Linked DNA regions of Homo sapiens: all the other regions are linked to region 2. The links are contacts of gene promoters, found by promoter capture Hi-C in blood cells and fetal thymus (Javierre and others, 2016). All regions are on one chromosome and are shown on one strand. Each heading gives the region's core, a stretch centred on a gene start or on the middle of the fragment in contact. The rest is flanking DNA. Distances are from core to core; before and after follow the strand shown.

Region 1 (2,947 bases), core at 248-2,747, 500 kb after region 2:
CTGGTTTTTTTTTTTGTTTTTTTGTTTTTTTTAAGTCTACATCACTTGAAACTTCCTGGTTTTCTAACTTCGCCTTCATCCAATCCTCTTTGTAAGTCTGATCATCTTTAAGGTTTACTTCAGTAAAAATAGAAAGCTCATTTTTCTAGCACCATTCACTACACATTTGTGTATACTGGTAGATGATTTGTGAACCCTAAGATGTTTTCAAAGTAGGTATTTTCCTCTCTAAAGGTAGGCTGATAAGGCAAATCTGTTAGAAAACCCTTGGTAAGTAAGTACCTCAGATGACGTCTGTAGATTTGGTTTTTATCCAGTTAGAATAAATTAAGGTTAAAGAACATACTACGTTAAGATTTTTGAAACCATTTGAAAGCTTGCAGTAACTCATAAAATCTCTACTTTACAATAAAATTAGTTAAATCTCAACACCTGTATCCAAAAATTCTAATTCTTTCTGGATGATAATTACTGAAGCTTTTTTCTTTGAAAAACTTGATACAGTATTCCTTTGCAAGACAGGATAAATTCATCACATTTAAAAATGTATCACATGTTGAATAAGCTTTAGGTGACTTTTTGTAAAGCAAATTTGAAAATGCTATGAAAAATCAGTTTCTAAACTGTACGCTTGTAGACTGAGGCACTTAATTTATTCACCTCCCTTTTTTCAGCATTGAAGATAATGATGATGACAGCAAAATGGCAGATCTCTTGTCCTACTTCCAGCAGCAACTCACATTTCAGGAGTCTGTGCTTAAACTGTGTCAGCCTGAGCTTGAGAGCAGTCAGATTCACATATCAGGTGTGAATACTTGTTTTTCATAACTCAGTGAGAAATATCTTAACCTTAAAGATTTCCAAATTTATAAGGTCAGATAATTTGCCAGATAACTGCTGCTTTAGTTCAGAATATGGTGGAAGATCTAGTTATAATTATCATTTGCATATACTATTAAGCTGTTTTGTGTTTTGTTTTGTCTTGTTTTGTTTTTTGAAATGGAGACGTGCCCTGTCACCCAGGCTGGAGTGCAGTGGTGCAATCTCGGCTCACTGCAACCTCTGCCTCCTGGGTTCAAGCAATTCTGCTGCCTCAGCCTCCCAAGTGGCTGGGATTACAGGCGTGTGCCACCACACCCAGCTAAATTTTTGTATCTTCAGTAAAGACAGAGTTTCACCATGTTGGCCAGGCTGGTCTCGAACTCCTGACTTCATGATCTGCCCACCTTGGCCTCCCAAAGTGCTGGGATTACAGGCCTCTGAGGCACTGCGCCCAGCCCAGTAGTAAGCTGCTTTACAATCTGAAGCAGAACAGTTTGTAGTGCTGTTGTTTAAGGATGCCATACCTTTTTCAGTAAAGATCTAACAGGGTAAGTCTGAGTTGTTGAGGTAGCCCTAAGAAAACTGGAGGAATACTGGTATCATGAAGCATTTCAGCCATGTTGGACAATTGTCCTGAGACAGACTGAATGTTTAGGAATTAATGGATTTTTGTTCGGGCATGGTGGCTCACGCCTGCAATCTCAGCATTTTGGGAGGCTGAGTTGGGAGGATCACTTGAGGCCAGGAGTTCAAGATAAGCCTGGCCAACATGGTGAAACCCCACCTCTACTAAAAATACAAAAATTAGCTGGGCGTCGTGGCGCATGACTGTAGTCCCACCTACTTGGGAGGCTGAGGCACGAGAATTACTTGAACCCAGGAGGCAGAGGCTGCAGTGAGCTGAGATTGTATCACTGCACTCCAGCCTGGGCAACAGAGCAAGAACCTGTCACAAAAAAAAAAGAAATTCATGTATTTTTAATATGTTAAATATTGTTTGGTTCGGGGCTTTTTCAGAGGAGGACAATTAAAAGTTTTCAAGGAGATGAAAATAACTTTAGTGTTAATAGATGCAATATGGATCACACACACATAGATTATTTTCCTAAAACATTTATTTTAATATGTCTGGCAAAATAATCTTATGAGGGAAAAGAGTGCTTTATAAAAAGTAGCTTCAGATCTATACTGAAAAAACAAAGATATTTATGTCTTGATGTTAAGAACCATTATTATTATTGAGTAGCTAAATACATTCATGCTTTAGCTCTGAGCAATACAGAGGGTGTGATTATAAATTTCTAGGAAGGTATAAATGTACTGGGAATGTAGTTGTGACAATAGAATGACATAGAGGAGAGTCACTGAAGGATGATTTTCTTTTGCAGTGCTGCCAATGGAGGTCCTGATGTACATCTTCCGATGGGTGGTGTCTAGTGACTTGGACCTCAGATCATTGGAGCAGTTGTCGCTGGTGTGCAGAGGATTCTACATCTGTGCCAGGTACTAAGTTTTTGTTTTTGTTTTTTAAACAACTGAGGCAATGGTGAAAAGAAAGATGGTCCTTTGCCAATCCTGATAAAATTACTTGATTGGTGTTCTGAGTTAAAGCTTAGAATAAACAAGTTTTGCTAAGCTGTACTTAACTTTCTCAAATAACTTAGAATTTAAAGGCTAGAATATGCTAGGTTTCTAGGGTATAGAATAATATGTAGGACAGATGTAGTAACCCATACTACTACCATAGAGTTTACATGCTAGCTTAACTGATTTGGGAAAAAGAGTTATATTAGAAAAATATATTCAAGTCATTTTTACACTAACTGTAAACTCATTGTGGTAATGGTTTAGATTAAAACAGCACTAGCATTTTCTTATGGCTCATTAAAAGTTATTCTATATTTTGAAAATTTTGCTATGTGTGGGAAAGGACTCTATTCAATAAATGGTGCTGAGATAAGCGGCTAGCCATGTGCAGAAGATGGAAACTGGATCCTTTCCTTACACGACACACAAAAATCAAATCAAGATGGATTAAAGACTTAAATGTAAAACCTAAAACTATATACTTAGTCCTTATATAGAATTTTTAAAAACAACTTGTTCTTAAAATTCAGATGCATTA
Region 2 (3,001 bases), core at 502-3,001:
ACGGATATGACTCTGTGTGACACCACACACTTCCAGGGGAGAACCCAGAACAAGGTGGAGCAAGCCCGACCCAATATACCACTAGAGAGAGCTGTGAGAGGGAGAGGAAGGAGAGAGGGACTGAACTAAAGGAGCACTATCAAAAAGTGGAGTGGAGACCCCAGTCCTAGCACCACCGTTTATTTCCTACAGACCCTAAAGCTCAGCCACGGACACATTCATTCATCCAACCCTGACTTGGCCACCACAAGAACGTTCCCAGCTTGAGGGCAGCTTCGCCAGCCAATTAGGGCCCTTGTCATTCGTAGAGATACAGGGAACCCGAGACAGAGGGACAGGGAAGGAAATTTAGCCAGGCAAGCCATCCTCCATCTCCAAGGAAGTTTGTAAATGATCACAGCTTCCTAACCCAACCGTGAGAATGCAATAAGCAAGCTGACGCAGAAGGGAGGACAAGGAGTCTCAGGAACCAGAGGAGACCACGGTGAGAGTGAGGGGAATGTCGCTCACATATCTCACTTCTGAGACAAGATATACCGCAACAAACCCATGCCAAGCTTCCTCCAGTTCTTCCCACTTTTGAATATCACATTTTTCTTGCTCTGCAAGAGTAGGGAATCCTTCCCATCAGTCTTGTGAATTCTGACCCCTTGCTGGCTTTCTACAACTCCCTGCCTGGGAGGCCGACACCAGGACATTGCTGTTGGGGGTGGGATCCCCATCCTCTGCCCCCCACTCCTACACTATAAGAGAATCAACTTTCCCCAAAAAGTGGAGGGTATCCCTGTCTCTCTTCTTGTCTCTGTAAAGGGGGTGAAGCTCTGGGTCGCCGCAGATGGATCTAAAGGGACAGTTCACGGAGTGGTAAAGGATATCCAAAAATTGGCCTTCTAGAGCACAGCAAAAAAGTGGGAGCGAGACGAGAGCAGAAGGCCACTGCTGGGATGGGGCCAGGGCCACACGTGAACATCCGAGCACGTTCCAGAGCTGAGATGCAAAACACCCAGAAAATCACATAGGAAGTGGAAAAGGTTCTGGGTCTCTCCCACTGGAAAAGCCCAGAAGAGCTAGTGGCCACCCCTTGGGGCAAGAGGGGGTTGTGCAATGACTGCGGGTCTGGGAGTCTCTGGGCTTGGCTCCTGGACGCCAGAAAGGGAACCCCACGCGTCAAGCCATGGTGGCAGCGCGGCGGTTGGTTCGAGGCCAGGCTGGGGTTTCAGGGCTGCAGACAGAGCTGCAGGATACGATGAGTGCCCAAGGGGGCGGCAGAGCATGGCATGGCTGGCACGGCGCGGAGCTGGGGGTGCTGTCTGGGCTGGCCGGGGTACAGGCCGGAGGGGTACAGTGCACAAAGCCGGGGTGCAGATAACGTACACGGCAGCCAGGAGCCTCCGATCAGAGGAGGGCCCGCTGACCTGCAGGGGTGTGCCGGGCGGTGCACGACAGGGGGCACTGTCCCTCCAGCTCCCTCCTCCCCAGGCTCTCACCTCGAACATAAGCCCGATGAGGACGCAGAGCACCAGGCAGAAGCCGATGTCCGCATGGTTGTGGATGACGAACTCCTGGCTGAAGAGCGGGTAACTTTTCGTCCTCCTGCGGAAAGCCATGGCAGCGGGCGCGCAGCGGCCGGCGGGGCCCGCACCCTGCGCTCACGAACCGCAGCGCAAACTTCTCCAGCACCGGCCCGGTCCGCCCGCCGGCCCGCCGCCCGCTCTCCCACAGCCGCTCGCCCGCCCAGCGCGGAACAACTTCGGGGCCCGCCCCCTTCCTCCGCCCGCCCCCGGCCGCCCGTAACCGCCCCCGGCCGCAGCCCCCGCCCAGCCCCCGCCCAGCCCGCGGCCCGCACTCGGCGCGCCTGGCCCCGCCCCCCGCGGGCTTAACCCTCTAGCCGCTGGGCACGCGCGGGCTACCGGGGCGGAGGCGTACGGGGGCGGCGAGCGGGGCTCGGCTCCTCCTCGTCCCGCGCCAGCGCCGCGCCCGGCCGCATTCTCGGGGCCCGAGGCTCAGCCGCTCGCGGTGGAGAAAGCAGGCCGCGGAGGAGGCGGGCGCCCAGGCCTGCCCGGACAGGAAGTGGGCCCAGCTTTCCCACTCCTCGCTCCGCTCCTTCCTCCGCGGGAAGGGCAGGCCCCGGAGGCAGCGAGCGCCCCGGGGGTGGCCGGGCAGCCGGATGCTCCCGGGGTTGCGGGCTGTGGCCCCGGGGGCTGAGGGCGGCGCGGGTGCGGCGGAAGCAGGGAAGCCGCGAACCGGCCTTCTGGCTGGCCACAGCGCCCTGCACGGACGATCAGTGAATGGAGATTACTCAAGTATTTATCGAGAACTTGCAGTGGGCTAGGCACAGTTCAGGTAGATCAACAAACCGAAAGACCCTGCCCTAGGGGAGCTTTCGCTCCAATGCGGGGAGAGGGTGGATGATTGCAGTTTTGCCCAGTAATTTTTGGGACCCTCATGCCACCATTAATTAGCTACACACATTTCACCGAAAGTCTACCTTACATATTAATCAGAAGAAGTGGAAGAATAAACACAGAAGAAGCAAAAAAGGAAGGAACTTTCTCACTGAAAGTTTCTATTTAATATTAAGTCTTAAAAGTACTCCTGGAAGGACAAAAGGTGTTCTTAATAAATTATATTCGCAAATATTGGATTTAATCCTACCAGTAATGAAGCAGTCAGTTACTTTCTAGATGTGCAGAAATACGTAATGAACAAAAAAAACTAATTCCTATTCCATTTTTTATTAGGTCCACAGTTATTTCACTTCTAAATAAATATGGTTTTTTAAAAGTGGCACGCGGTGGAATGTAATTGAGACAGGATGGAGTTCCTAGAGAAATTTTACTTCCTCAATCTGCACTCCACCTTACTTAAAATACAGTCTTGGGTCTGTAATTCCCTTATCTGACTCTCAAGGAAATGACAAAGTAATGCCTAGATTGGACTAAACCTCATTTAACTTCAAGGCTGACCTTTCTCAAAGTTGAACCTTCGTCTTGTGAGGAAC
Region 3 (2,772 bases), core at 11-2,510, 410 kb after region 2:
TGAGCCCAGGAGTTCAAGACCATTCTGGGCAACATAGTAAGATCCCACCTTAAAAAAAAAAAATTTTACACTTCAATGATCTTTCAACTTGAAGGATTTAAGGACCAGAAAAATAACTTTGGGTCCTTACTTTCATTTCATTTGCCAAACTAGAATCTTAAAAATATTACACATACACACACACACACACTCCCCAAAGCCAACCAAACAATAGACACTGAAGGAAGGCCCAAGAGTTCTAGGCCAATCTTCTAATACATAGTTTTATTTACCTGGAGGAAAGGAAATGCAGACAGGATATTAGGAATTTTCTCTTCTAGAGCTAAAATGGTTTGGAGTAAAATCACATCTGCAAGGCTCAGCTGATTACCAACAAGAAAGCTTTGTCCGTGACCCCTTAAAATCTGTAGGGAAATGGTGTGCATCAGTTACAATATTCCACATGGAGAGAGTGATGAGGCTATTGAATCAGTGCAGTATCTGAGAAGAGGTGAAACTATGACCTTGTCATTTCATGCTTTCATAAATAACATCAATTAAGAGAACGCACCCTATATCTGACAGAGAGAGTGAGAGAGAGGGGGAGAGAGAGAGAGAGAGAGCGAGAGAGAGAGAGAGAAAGTACAAAAAAGGTGTGGAAATGAAAGCATCCTTAAATATCTGCTGTGGATCTGAATGAGACATTGAAGTGGGGAAGGGAAAATTCCTTATTTCTGGATTTAGCATCTGGTGTTTTGAAAGGATATATCTACTCCAAAAATGTATCTACAGAAATGCATGCAGGAGGCTTGGGGAGGGGCAGGGTGATTTAAGAAATCTAAGTGATAGATCATCTTCAAGGGGCCCACTCTTATTTCCCAGTTCTGCTGCTAGAACATCAAGAGGTGTAGTCATAAACTCAACCCAATTATAAAATTAGACTTCCTCTTACATGTCCCAAAACAGAGAAAATGAAAAGCTTGAGTTCATCTTGACTCCCATTCTGAGGGTAACGTATAGGTGTGGGGCTTATAAGAATAGATTGTGATTAGGGAGAGGCAAGAAGCAGTAGTAGCAAAGGGGAGATCCCCTTCACAGTCAACTCTTGGATGCCCATGGGTGTCTGCATGTGCACAAGTGTGTGTGTCACAGGGACTCCGAACACAATTCCAGGTCAAATATAGCTACTGGAGCCAGAGTGGCATAGTACAATGCATCCTGAATTTGTAGTCAGAGGCCAGAGTTCCAACCCTGCTCTCCATTTTCTGGCCATGTTACCTTGGACAGGTCACTGAATCTCTTCATGACTTCATTTCATTATGTGTAAAAGGGACAACGGTTCTCACCTCATAGGCGTGTTGCAAGAAACCCTGACACAGTCTGGGCCCTTGGGACCTAAGAATGAGCAGTGAACCTTTGCCAAAGCACCAGGTCCTCTGTGCCCGTTCCAGACCACATTTCTTCATTATCCTATTTTACATTCACAAAGTGCCTGTGGGAAAGATACCATAAAACCTAGCTACAGAAACCCCAGAAAATACCTCTCCTTTTTCCTAAATCTAGTTCCATAAAGATGGTCAGAGGAAGCTTGCCAAATAGGTCTTCCCATATTTTCACACCCTCTTCTTTAGTGTTTGCATTGAAACACTAAAAAAGTTCCTCCCAGTTCAGGAATAAAGAATTTGAAGCTCAGAAAAGCAGATATAACAAGAAGAGAAAAACAACAAAACCAAAAACAAAAAGAGCAAAGGGAAGATAAATAAAATGGAAATGGTTCTTCTACTCATATCGAATTATCAGGGAGGATGTCAGCTGAGACAGCTGTTCGACAACTTTTGTTGAATGAATGAATGAGGTAGTTTTTGTTTTCTGTATCTTCTGAAGTTTCTGCTGTATCCACACAAGGTGGGAACTTGGTGAATGCAAGGAACAATAAGGAACAAAGGCAGGGAGCCCATACTTTTTCTAGACTTCTGAATCATGTGGTCCTAGCAGAGTCCAAGGGGCTCTAAGACACCAGCTTTGTGCTGTGGCTACTATTCGCTCTTAGGAGTCCATTAGCGCTTAGGTTAGTTCAACTGGGCTCAGTTTTAAAATCCTTGGACAGAAAAGGGTGTTTGTGGCAGCTTCTTTGTGGTTTGTGGTTTGGTTGCTCTGTGTATGTAGGCATCTCTGCCACCTACCTTTTCAAACACAGGAAAGTATCTAATTATAGCCTTCTGGGCCATGTTAACCACTTCCTTTTGCTGATCATCTGGTTTTAAGAAAGGATGCATGATAAGCAGTTCCAGCAGATCCAGTGTCCCCTCCACGTACATGTCAATCCTTAAAACAAAAAAGCAGTTGTCTCAGTTTCTCCTCTCTTTGAAGCCATCAGTTTCCACAACTAAGAATTCAGAGTGCTTTTTTTTTTTTTTTTAAAGATGCTGCAACTTAAGTCCCTAGAAGCATTTACCTATACCTGTCTCTTAAGAGCAAAGATATAAGGTCAATTCTAGTTGTAACTCAGAAAAATCTGTCACAGATCAGACAGCTTGACAGTCATGAGTGCTCTCTCTCCTGGCATCCTACTCCTCCACTTTTACCCCAGCATCCATGTTTTGGTCTCTTCGTATGGGTCAAACTTCAACTTTATAAAAATAGTGAATACCACTTATTGAGTGCTTAGAGTGTACCAGGCATGGTGCTAAACACTCTCTATCCATTATCTCATTAAATCACATGACACTATGAGAAATGTACTATTCTTATACCCACGTTGCCCAGGGTCATACATCTAAGGGGTGCAAGGAC
Region 4 (2,863 bases), core at 6-2,505, 260 kb before region 2:
ATGAGCAAAATGTATTGTCTAAATAAAGCCATACCAATTTTTCACCTTATGAGAAATGGAAGTTAGGTTCATTTGGAATAATCTCTTCTCAATGAAAACTTGTTGGTGCCTAGCAATGACTTCCCTTTTTTTATGTTTATAGGATGCCCTTCAAGAACTTTGCCCAGGACTCTGGCATCTATGGTTTGCAGAATCAACCTTCTTCCCCTTTTCACAAAATGGAATAGTGTGTACCCAGCCACAGTCTTCTGGCGTCTCTCCCCGGCCCCACAGTCCCTGAAAAGCTGCCAACAGTCTTCTCATATATAAATTCTGTTGGTACCCCAGCCGGAATTTGTCCAAGCTTGGAGACATAAGCTCATTGAAAGCTAGGCATTCTCATACAATACCCCATTTATTTTGTGCCTCAATGTCTTCCTGCTGATATTTGTATGAAGAACATTCAACTTTAGAAAAGTTGGAACAGGGAAGCTGGTGTTTAGAGGTGGAAGCCAGTAAGTTCCGGGTGCAAATCCAGATTCTTTCATTCTCCAAAGGTCTGATCTTGGGCTAGGTTATCCAATTCTTTGAACTTCAGTTTGCTAATCTGTAAGATGGGAATAATAATCGCTATTATTATTACTATTAGGTTTCAGGTTGTAGTGAAGATTGAATAAGATAATATTTGTAAAAATGCAGAGCACGAATGGATAGTAACAACAAAGCAGGTGAGATGAACAGATCTGCTTCCTCATAGATATGGGGATTAATGGGATTTCAGAGTTGGAGAGCACTAGAGAAGTCACCCAGTCCTACCTCCTGCTCAGCGAGAGTGGTACTCATGAGCCAGCACATTTCAGCATGAACCAGCTTCTCCCTGTCACCTATCACCATCCCATTCGCTCCTCAACAACATGCCTGTACCTTCCATCCCCCATCAAAACCTTTAGAAGGCCTTTTCTCTGTGCCAGTACTTTAAACCCTTTATCTCATTAATCCTTACAACAACCCTGTGATACGTTTTTAATGTTCCTTTTACAGCTATGGAAACTGAGGCTCAGAGATATTAAGTAACTTATCGAAGGCTACACAGTTAATAAACAGGATTCAGCCCAGGTCTGTCTGTAACCAATGCTCCTACTCTTTTCTGCAATATTACATGGCCTTTAAAAAAAAAATTCTTATTTTTCTCAAACAGCTCATTCTTGGCTTTATCCATTTTGTCAGCTGTCCTGAAAGTCCCTCTTTTAGGTGTCCGTCTTTTAGGTGTATCCTTCTGCTATGCACTAAATAGTGTCCACTGAAAATTCATATGTTGCAATGAACTTTAATCCCCAATGTGATGGTCTATGGAGATGGGGCCTTTGGGAGGTACTTAGGATTAGATGAAGTCTGACAGCGGGACTGTCACACTGAAGTCAGTGCCCTCATAAGAAGAGGCACCAGAGAGCTCACTCCACCATAGCCCCAGCACACAAACAGGAGGTCATGTGAGTAAACAGTAATGGCAGCCTCCTACAAGCCAAGAGAAGAGGCCTCAGGATGAGACCTGCCTTGCCAGCACCTTGATCTTGGACTTCCCAGCCTACCGAACTGTAAGAAATAAATTTCTGTGCCTTAAGCCATCGAAAAGTCTATGGCATTTTGTTATGACAGCCTGAGCAGACTAAGCCACCTTCATTGCATCTACATTCTCTTTTCTCAATGCGGCATTTTTCAAATCTGAGCTGACTAATGAGTTTGCATTTCAGCTTGATGGGTCTCTCCAGCTCTCAATTTCCTGCCTTCCCCATTGTTCATTGTATCCTCAGTGTTCAGTTTTTGACAGTTCTCTTATTCTCTGGAGACATCCTCCTGTTTAGTGTCTCAGGCCATGTAATCAGATCTGTGATTTTTCCCTGAATGGTTTGACATTTGCCTTCATAACATCTGACAGTGTCCATTCTTGTGTACTCCAAACTTTGAAAAGATACAGGTCTGCTCAGTTCTGGGGCATAGTGAAAAAAAGAAAGAAGGCATGGATACTTTTACCTAGGCTTCTAGTCCTTCAAGTTGACCCCATTAGTTTCTGCTTGGAGAAACTTTGGGGTCCAAGTTATGCCCAGACTACAGTGTCCCCTTACTTCCTCTGCTTCCTAGGAGCTGCAGTTCTTGGCCAGGCAAATCAACAGGTTAACAGATATGACGCGTAAGCTTTCCTGCCCTTACTGATACCTCCTCTCCCCGAATTGCTCTAGCATTTGTTGTTTATTCCTTCCAGTTTAGCCCTTGATTGCTGGGCCTTGTATCCATTAGGCAAAGTGCTCAGGACCTACATTTCTTCTATTTTTAATTGGCTCTTATTGGCAAATCTGGAATCAGGCAACATCTCATTCTACAAAATAGAATGAGTATTCCTGGACCTACAGTTCTTTCTAGGTCCACAAAAATGTCTGAGACTTTCAGGGATGAGGGGAGAATGACATTAAAAAAAAAAGTTTGCAAAATCAAAATTAATATATGTATCTTTAAATGTCCATAAATTTAACATGATGAAAATTAATTAACTGCAACTCAATTCTACTCTAATTATGTGGTGATATACGTGGTGTTTGATGTAAAATGTGGGTTCAATATATTTTGTACTATGTGGGGGTAGCAGAGCCTCTGAGATTAGAAATGCCTGGGACCTACTGGAGTCTTAAAACTGCTCTGCTTGATTGTTTTACTCTATGCTTTGTTCTAATTTCTTACATCATTCTTGATGATTTAGTAGCATCATGCTACTAAATAGGTAGTCAAATCCTTTAACATATTGCTATACCATGTGTTAAGTACTGTGTTCAGTACTTAGGGTGGGAGTGAGGGGTGATTCACAAAAGATAAAATGGGGGCCCTGGGCCTA
Region 5 (2,978 bases), core at 275-2,774, 310 kb before region 2:
AGTCTGAAATCTCCTCAGGAGACATGAGAAAGAGAGGGCTGGCAGATTCACTCGTTTCTGTGAACCTTTCTCCTCTTTATCCCCCTTGATGTTTTCCTACCACCCGGCCCTGTTGTGAGGTAACACTGTCCTCAGGAGAAAGCTGAAAAATGCATTGCCGAGCTAGCGCCGAGAGGGTCCTCTCTGGGGGAAGTGCTTGCCTCAGAGCCACACTGACCGGAATGTGGGAACCATCAGAGAGTGGAAAGGCAGGGAAGAGATGAGAGTTCAGGAATGCAGCCAGGGTGAAATCATTGTAAATGGTTTTGATTAAAGGATCATGTTTCATAAACATTTGTCAAAATGAATCACTTTGTTTTAATGGGCCCTCGAACTTGCAGTAATCAAAACCACTGCCATGAAGTAGTAATACACCAGGTGGGAACCTGCCATCTGCTTTCCCAATTATGTTTCACAAGCATCCTACAAGGCAGGAATCATCCCCATTTTACAGCTGAAATAAAGAGTAGCATAAAACTTACCTGAAGTTATTCGGTAAATGGCGGAGAAGAGATTCAATTTCAACAATCCTTACCAAATTGTCCTTTTTGAAAACCACCCTTTCATTTTGCCACTTCATTTATCCAGGGGAGTTAAGGAATAAGGTGCCATTTTTCAAGATACAAAAACTTACTTCTCTAAGCTCCCCAAATTATTTTAACTACAGTATTTCAGACCACAAACCTAAATGTAAACAGACTTCTCTTTTGGAATGAGGCACGCAGATAATTTAGCAGTTTTCTCTGGTGAATCTGGGTCACCACTGCAATCTCTGCAGGGTGGCAACAGCGATACCCTCAGGGGTGACTGGACTTGAGACATGTCAGCCCACTTGAGCAGCCTCTTTCAGGTCCCCACAGTAGGTCCTGCAGTGGATCACCTGTCAACAAGCAAGAACCTATCCTGGAAAAGCTTACCAGCTCTTTTCTGTTCTTGTAAGCTGGGAACTACATAAACAAGTTTCTTAAAACTCAATGTAAAGGTTGAATCATGCTATTTTAATACAATTAGTATCTATTGTGGCTGCTATAGTCTTCTACCTACTATTCTTTTGACTAGCTTGAAGAGTGATGAAATGGTCAGCAAAGTCAACCTGATATTACAGCTATTATCACAATGGTAGGTGCACATATCCCCCCACTCTGTGCCTCAGTTTCCTCAGAGGTGAAGGACAGACTAAGAGTCCCATTGACAGAATGTTTGCCTTTCTAGAACAAATCACTTGAGGAGATCCCTAAGAACTCCTAGAACTGTTCTTCATAGCTGTACCCCATCAGTAGCACCTGACATCCTCATGGTCCTCCCTGGATTCCTATATCTCTGTGTGTGCCCTCATTTGGTATATAATCATACTTAATTTTTTTTTAATAAAGACAGGGTCTCGCCATGTTGCCCAGGCTGGCCTTAAACTCCTGGACTCAAGCAATCCGCCTGCCTCAGCCTCCCAAAGTGCTGAGATTACAGGCATGAGCCACCGTGCCCAGCTGTACACTTTATATTTTGAAATTTTCACCAACATATTGACATATCCCCAGCCTAGAAGCCTCAGAGCAGAAAGCGCCACTTTTGCACCCACTGCTATACCTAGCACAACTTCTGACTTATTGCCAATGCTCAACAAATGGCAAATTCTTCCTTCTGGTACCACTGCACTCTCTTTTGAAACTGTGCTCTCTAGACCACTTCCAGTAGGACTTAGATCTCGCTCGCATCAGTGAGGGGGAAAAAAAAATCCCAGATAAAACAGAATTCCCCAATAATTTTGTACTACTCCCTTTAAGAAAAAAATCCCTTTGTCCTAACGAACCAAAGAATATCTCCTGCTTTGTGGTAAAGGATCACCCCTCAGCAAAAATGGAAAAGAAAATACCTCAGCAATCTTACAGCCAAGAACTGGCACAACTTCAGAGCCACATCTGCCACCAGAAAGCAGCTTCCGGTCCATGTGACCGAGGCCCCCCATAAAGTCACATGATTCTTCTAAGTAACTTGAAAAATTCTTCAGAAGCTATTCAAACCATATAACGGTAGGACAGAAGTCCCGCCCTGGCCCCATCACAAGCTTCTGTGCAAACAGGCTAACCAACCCCAAAGAGTGGACACCCAGGTAGTTTCAAAAGCATCCTGTAGGCTGGGCACAGTGGCTCACACCTATAATCTCACAGTTTAGGAGGCCGAGATGGGAGAATCACTTGAGTCCAGGAGTTCAAGGCCAGCCTGGGCAACAGACAGACCTCATCTCTACTAAAAATTAAAAATAAAAACTTAGCGGGGCATGATGGCACGTGTCTGTGGTCTCAGCTACTAGGGAGGCTGAGGCAGGAGGATCACTTGAGCCCAGGAGGTCAAGGCTGTCATCAGCTGTGATTGTACCACTGCACTCTAGTCTGGGCACAAAGCGAGACCCTGTCTCAAAAAAAAAAAAAAAAAAAAAAAAAAAGATACTGTAACAAGATCTCATTATGGGCAAGAACTCCCAGGATTTTGAGGTGTCTGACGTATCGGGTATTCTATCTTTATGAAGGATAAGTTTAGATTCAGGCAAAAAGCGCCAGGCAGAGGGGCAATTCTTCTCCTGAACTTTTACTCACTAGCCTCCCGTGGCCATTTAGCTATTTTAAATTGGCAGGGTTTGGTCTATACTATCAATTTTGACTGATAAACGCTGGTGCTGCTGAAGAAGAAAACTGCCTCTAGAGAAGACATGACCCCCAGAGATCACAGCAGGCTGCTGCCACCTTGTGGTAGTTTGCTGCAAATGCGGGAGCAGCAAACCCTGCACGATTGCTCTCAAGGAAAACAATTCAATGTTATGTATAAAAAACACACTATGACTATTAAGACCATGTGTACGAAATGGCTAAGTTTATTCAACATCTCGGATATTCATCTGGATATTGGGTTTGTTTTGTGATACAATACATATTCACCTTAACTGG
Region 6 (2,856 bases), core at 303-2,802, 480 kb after region 2:
GCGGAGGTTGCAGTGAGCAGAGATCGCACCACTGTACTCCACCCTGGGACAGAGTGAGATTCTGTCTCAAAAAAAAAAAAATCAATAAATAAAAAATAGGGAATTTCCTATATAAATCCCTATTTGGAGCTTCTCTGGAAACACTGAAGGTCTAACCACCTGGGGTCCTTAGCCCTTCACGGTAATAAGAAGTGGAAGAAATGTCCGTACCTCTTCAGGCTGGGCGTGTGCTCTGCAGCTCACCACAGTCCCCATTTTTTGCCTGTTGCCACTTGCCATTTTTTTTTTTTAGCTGTCATTTTTTTGTGTGCCTTCATAGCCACTTGTTTTACTGGATGAAAAATATTTCTCTGTTCCTATGCCTATAACAAAAGTGACAAAGTAAAAGCCTGAAAAAAAAAAAAACCTTATACTTAAAGAAAAATTGGAAGAGAAGAAAAATTGTTCTTTTTTAGAAGAGAAGAGCAATTTCTTACTGTTTGACAAGCACACACCCAGCTTCCTTGAGTCTTTTATTTTCCTCCTCTGCCCTGACAGCATTTAAATTCAGCTTCTGGTACAGATAGTTAACACTGCTTGAGAAGTGAATGGAATGTAGCAGCCTGTCCATTACCTTGAGAATTAGCATGTATTTCTAACTCGCAGTATTTCTAAATTCTGCTTTGACTCCAAGAATTAACTTGGATAAATCATTCACTACAACGAATCTACACTTAGCACCCTCATATATCAAATATGCCCAAAACATGATAATTTTAGTACTTAGTATGTGCATAGTACTATTATAAGTGCTTATGCATATATTAGTACATTTAACCCTCATAATTCTACCAGGCAGGTACTATTACAATTATCCCTATTTTACAGAGAAGGAAACTGAGACACAAGTTACATGTCTAGATTATACGACTAATGTGGCAGAAATGAGACAGGAACCCAGGCTGACTGTACCAAACTTAAGGGAAAGCTTTCAAAAGATCATGAAATCTTTGGAGGATCTGAAAATGACAGGAACAGAAGTAGTACTTTGTATCTCAAAGCCCAAATATGAAAATGAATGATATGGCTATGTTCTAATTGTCTTCATTCTGCAATCAAATATCAGCGAATCCTCTGGAGCCATTGGCAGCACCAACATGCCCACAGTGGAGGCAAAGTGAGGGACTGGTTCCAGTTTCCACTCAGCACTGATCTGCTGTGCCTCGGGGCATCTCTTGGTCCTTGAGTTTACTTTTGGTGGAATTAGGGCATGGGACTTGCTCTAAGGTGGTTTCTTCCTCTAAAGCTGTGTGATTCTGTGACTCTGTATCAGGAATTGAGCTAGCATTTGTCTAAGAAAAAAAAAAGGATAAATGTTTCTGCTTTTTGCATCACATGAACAAAGGTTAGCGGAGAAGACAGTGCCACCGAAGGACCCTGTATGCTACACACCTTTCTTTCAAGAGATGCACAAGTGCCCCAGTGCCTCAGCCAGGCCCCAGTAAACATTAAACATCGATTCCTTCTCTTTCGAGCTCACATGTCACCTCTTCCAAGCCTCCTGCCCCAACCTACACATATAGACCCGAGAATGGTCCTCTCCCTTGATGCCATAGTGCCTTGTCCTCACCTCACTGCCAGCCCCTTCCCCGTGGCAATGACCTGCAGGTGTACCCTCTGCTTCAGCCTCGACACTCTCCAAGACTGCTTCATCTTTGTCTTCTCACTCCACTTGCAGTAGCAAGTCCTCAAAGATTGTTTGAAGGGCCCAAATGTGAGTTTTAGTCTTTGCTATTATTTTCTGTACCACCTTGGCTAAGTACCTCAAAATTCTCAGTGCTTCTATTTTGTCATACACAAAACAAAGATAAACTGTTGGGCCCAACTAAAAGTTCTGAAGTTCTGAAGTGGAAGAACAGTGAATACCACAGAATAGCTGGGGCAGGCAGGCAGCCTGGGCCCTCCCACAACAATGCCAAGATGACTGAGTCTCAGAGGATCACAGAAAGTCCCCCTCCATGCGGTCAGATCAGGCCTTTGGCCTTTGGGTAAGGCTGTACTCAACTACCAAAGAAAGACAGCTTTATCTCTCTTTCAAAGAGTTCCAGCAAACCTTTGAAGTCAATGTTATGATGTTCCTGGCTAGGTGACATTGGGGAAAAGCTTCCTGTGATTTGCCCCAATTCCCTCCCCTCAGCGTCAATCCTCGGTGGAGGCAAAGAACATTTGCTCATGGCCAGCAGCTCACATCAGGTGCCTTGCTCATTCACAGCCTAAAAAATGGAGGCGAGGGGCAGGGAAAATTGTAGTTCATTCTTTATTTTGAAACCTTAATCAATGAATTAATGCCATCATTACACATTTTCTAAGACAGGAGACAAAAAGTTACAGCAAACTTGGGGTTCTCTGGGAGTTGTGGTTTACCAGGCCCACTGACACCATTCAGTTCCTTAGAAGGAGCTTGTCTCCCTTTGCATTAATTATCTTACATTGAAAAGATTCTGTTACTTTCATTTATCCTCCTAGGAAAAGTGGATTATATGCAAAATCATTAGATGACCCTTCTCATGGTAATTCTGAGTTCCATTTTACCTTTACAGGTTTATAATTAGACTTCGTATTCTAGGTTTGAATGTGTCCTAACTTTACAAAAGTCAGTGAATACTGTTAATTTCTTTTAAAAAGGTACTAGAAATAGTATATCCGGGTTTATGTTTTTCTCCTGGACCTAATTCTTCTGCCTCTGTACATTTTAGCAAGCAAACCTTTTAAGCATTTTGCCTCTTGGACTACTGCTTTTTTTCTGCATAAGGAATAGCAGTTACAAAGCCAAAAGGACCTTCTTTACATGGATCTTGCTTTGTCTTTACCTTGACA

Evidence for each region. The method cuts DNA at HindIII sites, captures the fragments that hold promoters and counts their contacts. A CHiCAGO score of 5 or more calls a contact.
Region 1: a fragment that was not itself captured here is called in contact with the fragment with the promoter of TRAM2 in region 2 in 1 of 17 cell types (total CD8 T cells); the score reaches 5.9 in total CD8 T cells.
Region 3: a fragment that was not itself captured here is called in contact with the fragment with the promoter of TRAM2 in region 2 in 1 of 17 cell types (total CD8 T cells); the score reaches 5.7 in total CD8 T cells.
Region 4: a contact is called between a fragment that was not itself captured here and the fragment with the promoter of TRAM2 in region 2, in 2 of 17 cell types (non-activated CD4 T cells and monocytes). The highest score is 5.9, in non-activated CD4 T cells.
Region 5: a contact is called between a fragment that was not itself captured here and the fragment with the promoter of TRAM2 in region 2, in 5 of 17 cell types (non-activated CD4 T cells, total CD8 T cells, naive CD8 T cells and 2 more). The highest score is 8.1, in non-activated CD4 T cells.
Region 6: a fragment that was not itself captured here is called in contact with the fragment with the promoter of TRAM2 in region 2 in 1 of 17 cell types (total B cells); the score reaches 5.3 in total B cells.

Annotation. Positions count from the first base shown.
Region 1 is chr6:53,080,294-53,083,240 of GRCh38, forward strand. It overlaps FBXO9 (F-box protein 9), which reads left to right. Exons shown (of 13, transcript NM_033480.3): 6 at 675-805; 7 at 2,211-2,325. Among named protein-coding and RNA genes, the nearest start is that of FBXO9, 16 kb to the left of the region's middle. The HindIII fragment of the contact is 1,868 bases long and covers 564-2,431 here.
Region 2 is chr6:52,575,309-52,578,309 of GRCh38, forward strand. It overlaps TRAM2 (translocation associated membrane protein 2), which reads right to left and starts at 1,752. Exons shown (of 11, transcript NM_012288.4): 1 at 1,488-1,752. The coding sequence starts at 1,607. TRAM2-AS1 (TRAM2 antisense RNA 1) reads left to right here and starts at 1,894. Exons shown (of 3, transcript NR_103446.1): 1 at 1,894-3,001. RefSeq lists a silencer at 1,465-2,324. The HindIII fragment of the contact is 3,868 bases long and covers 556-3,001 here.
Region 3 is chr6:52,982,302-52,985,073 of GRCh38, forward strand. GSTA4 (glutathione S-transferase alpha 4) reads right to left here. Exons shown (of 7, transcript NM_001512.4): 5 at 2,163-2,304; 6 at 273-404. Among named protein-coding and RNA genes, the nearest start is that of GSTA4, 12 kb to the right of the region's middle. The HindIII fragment of the contact is 608 bases long and covers 957-1,564 here.
Region 4 is chr6:52,310,864-52,313,726 of GRCh38, forward strand. No RefSeq gene overlaps it. Among named protein-coding and RNA genes, the nearest start is that of MCM3, 28 kb to the left of the region's middle. The HindIII fragment of the contact is 1,829 bases long and covers 342-2,170 here.
Region 5 is chr6:52,261,133-52,264,110 of GRCh38, forward strand. MCM3 (minichromosome maintenance complex component 3) reads right to left here. Exons shown (of 17, transcript NM_002388.6): 17 at 2,883-2,978. Among named protein-coding and RNA genes, the nearest start is that of IL17F, 18 kb to the left of the region's middle. The HindIII fragment of the contact is 1,150 bases long and covers 950-2,099 here.
Region 6 is chr6:53,052,661-53,055,516 of GRCh38, forward strand. All of the region lies in intron 1 of CILK1 (ciliogenesis associated kinase 1), which reads right to left. Among named protein-coding and RNA genes, the nearest start is that of CILK1, 7.7 kb to the right of the region's middle. The HindIII fragment of the contact is 1,175 bases long and covers 966-2,140 here.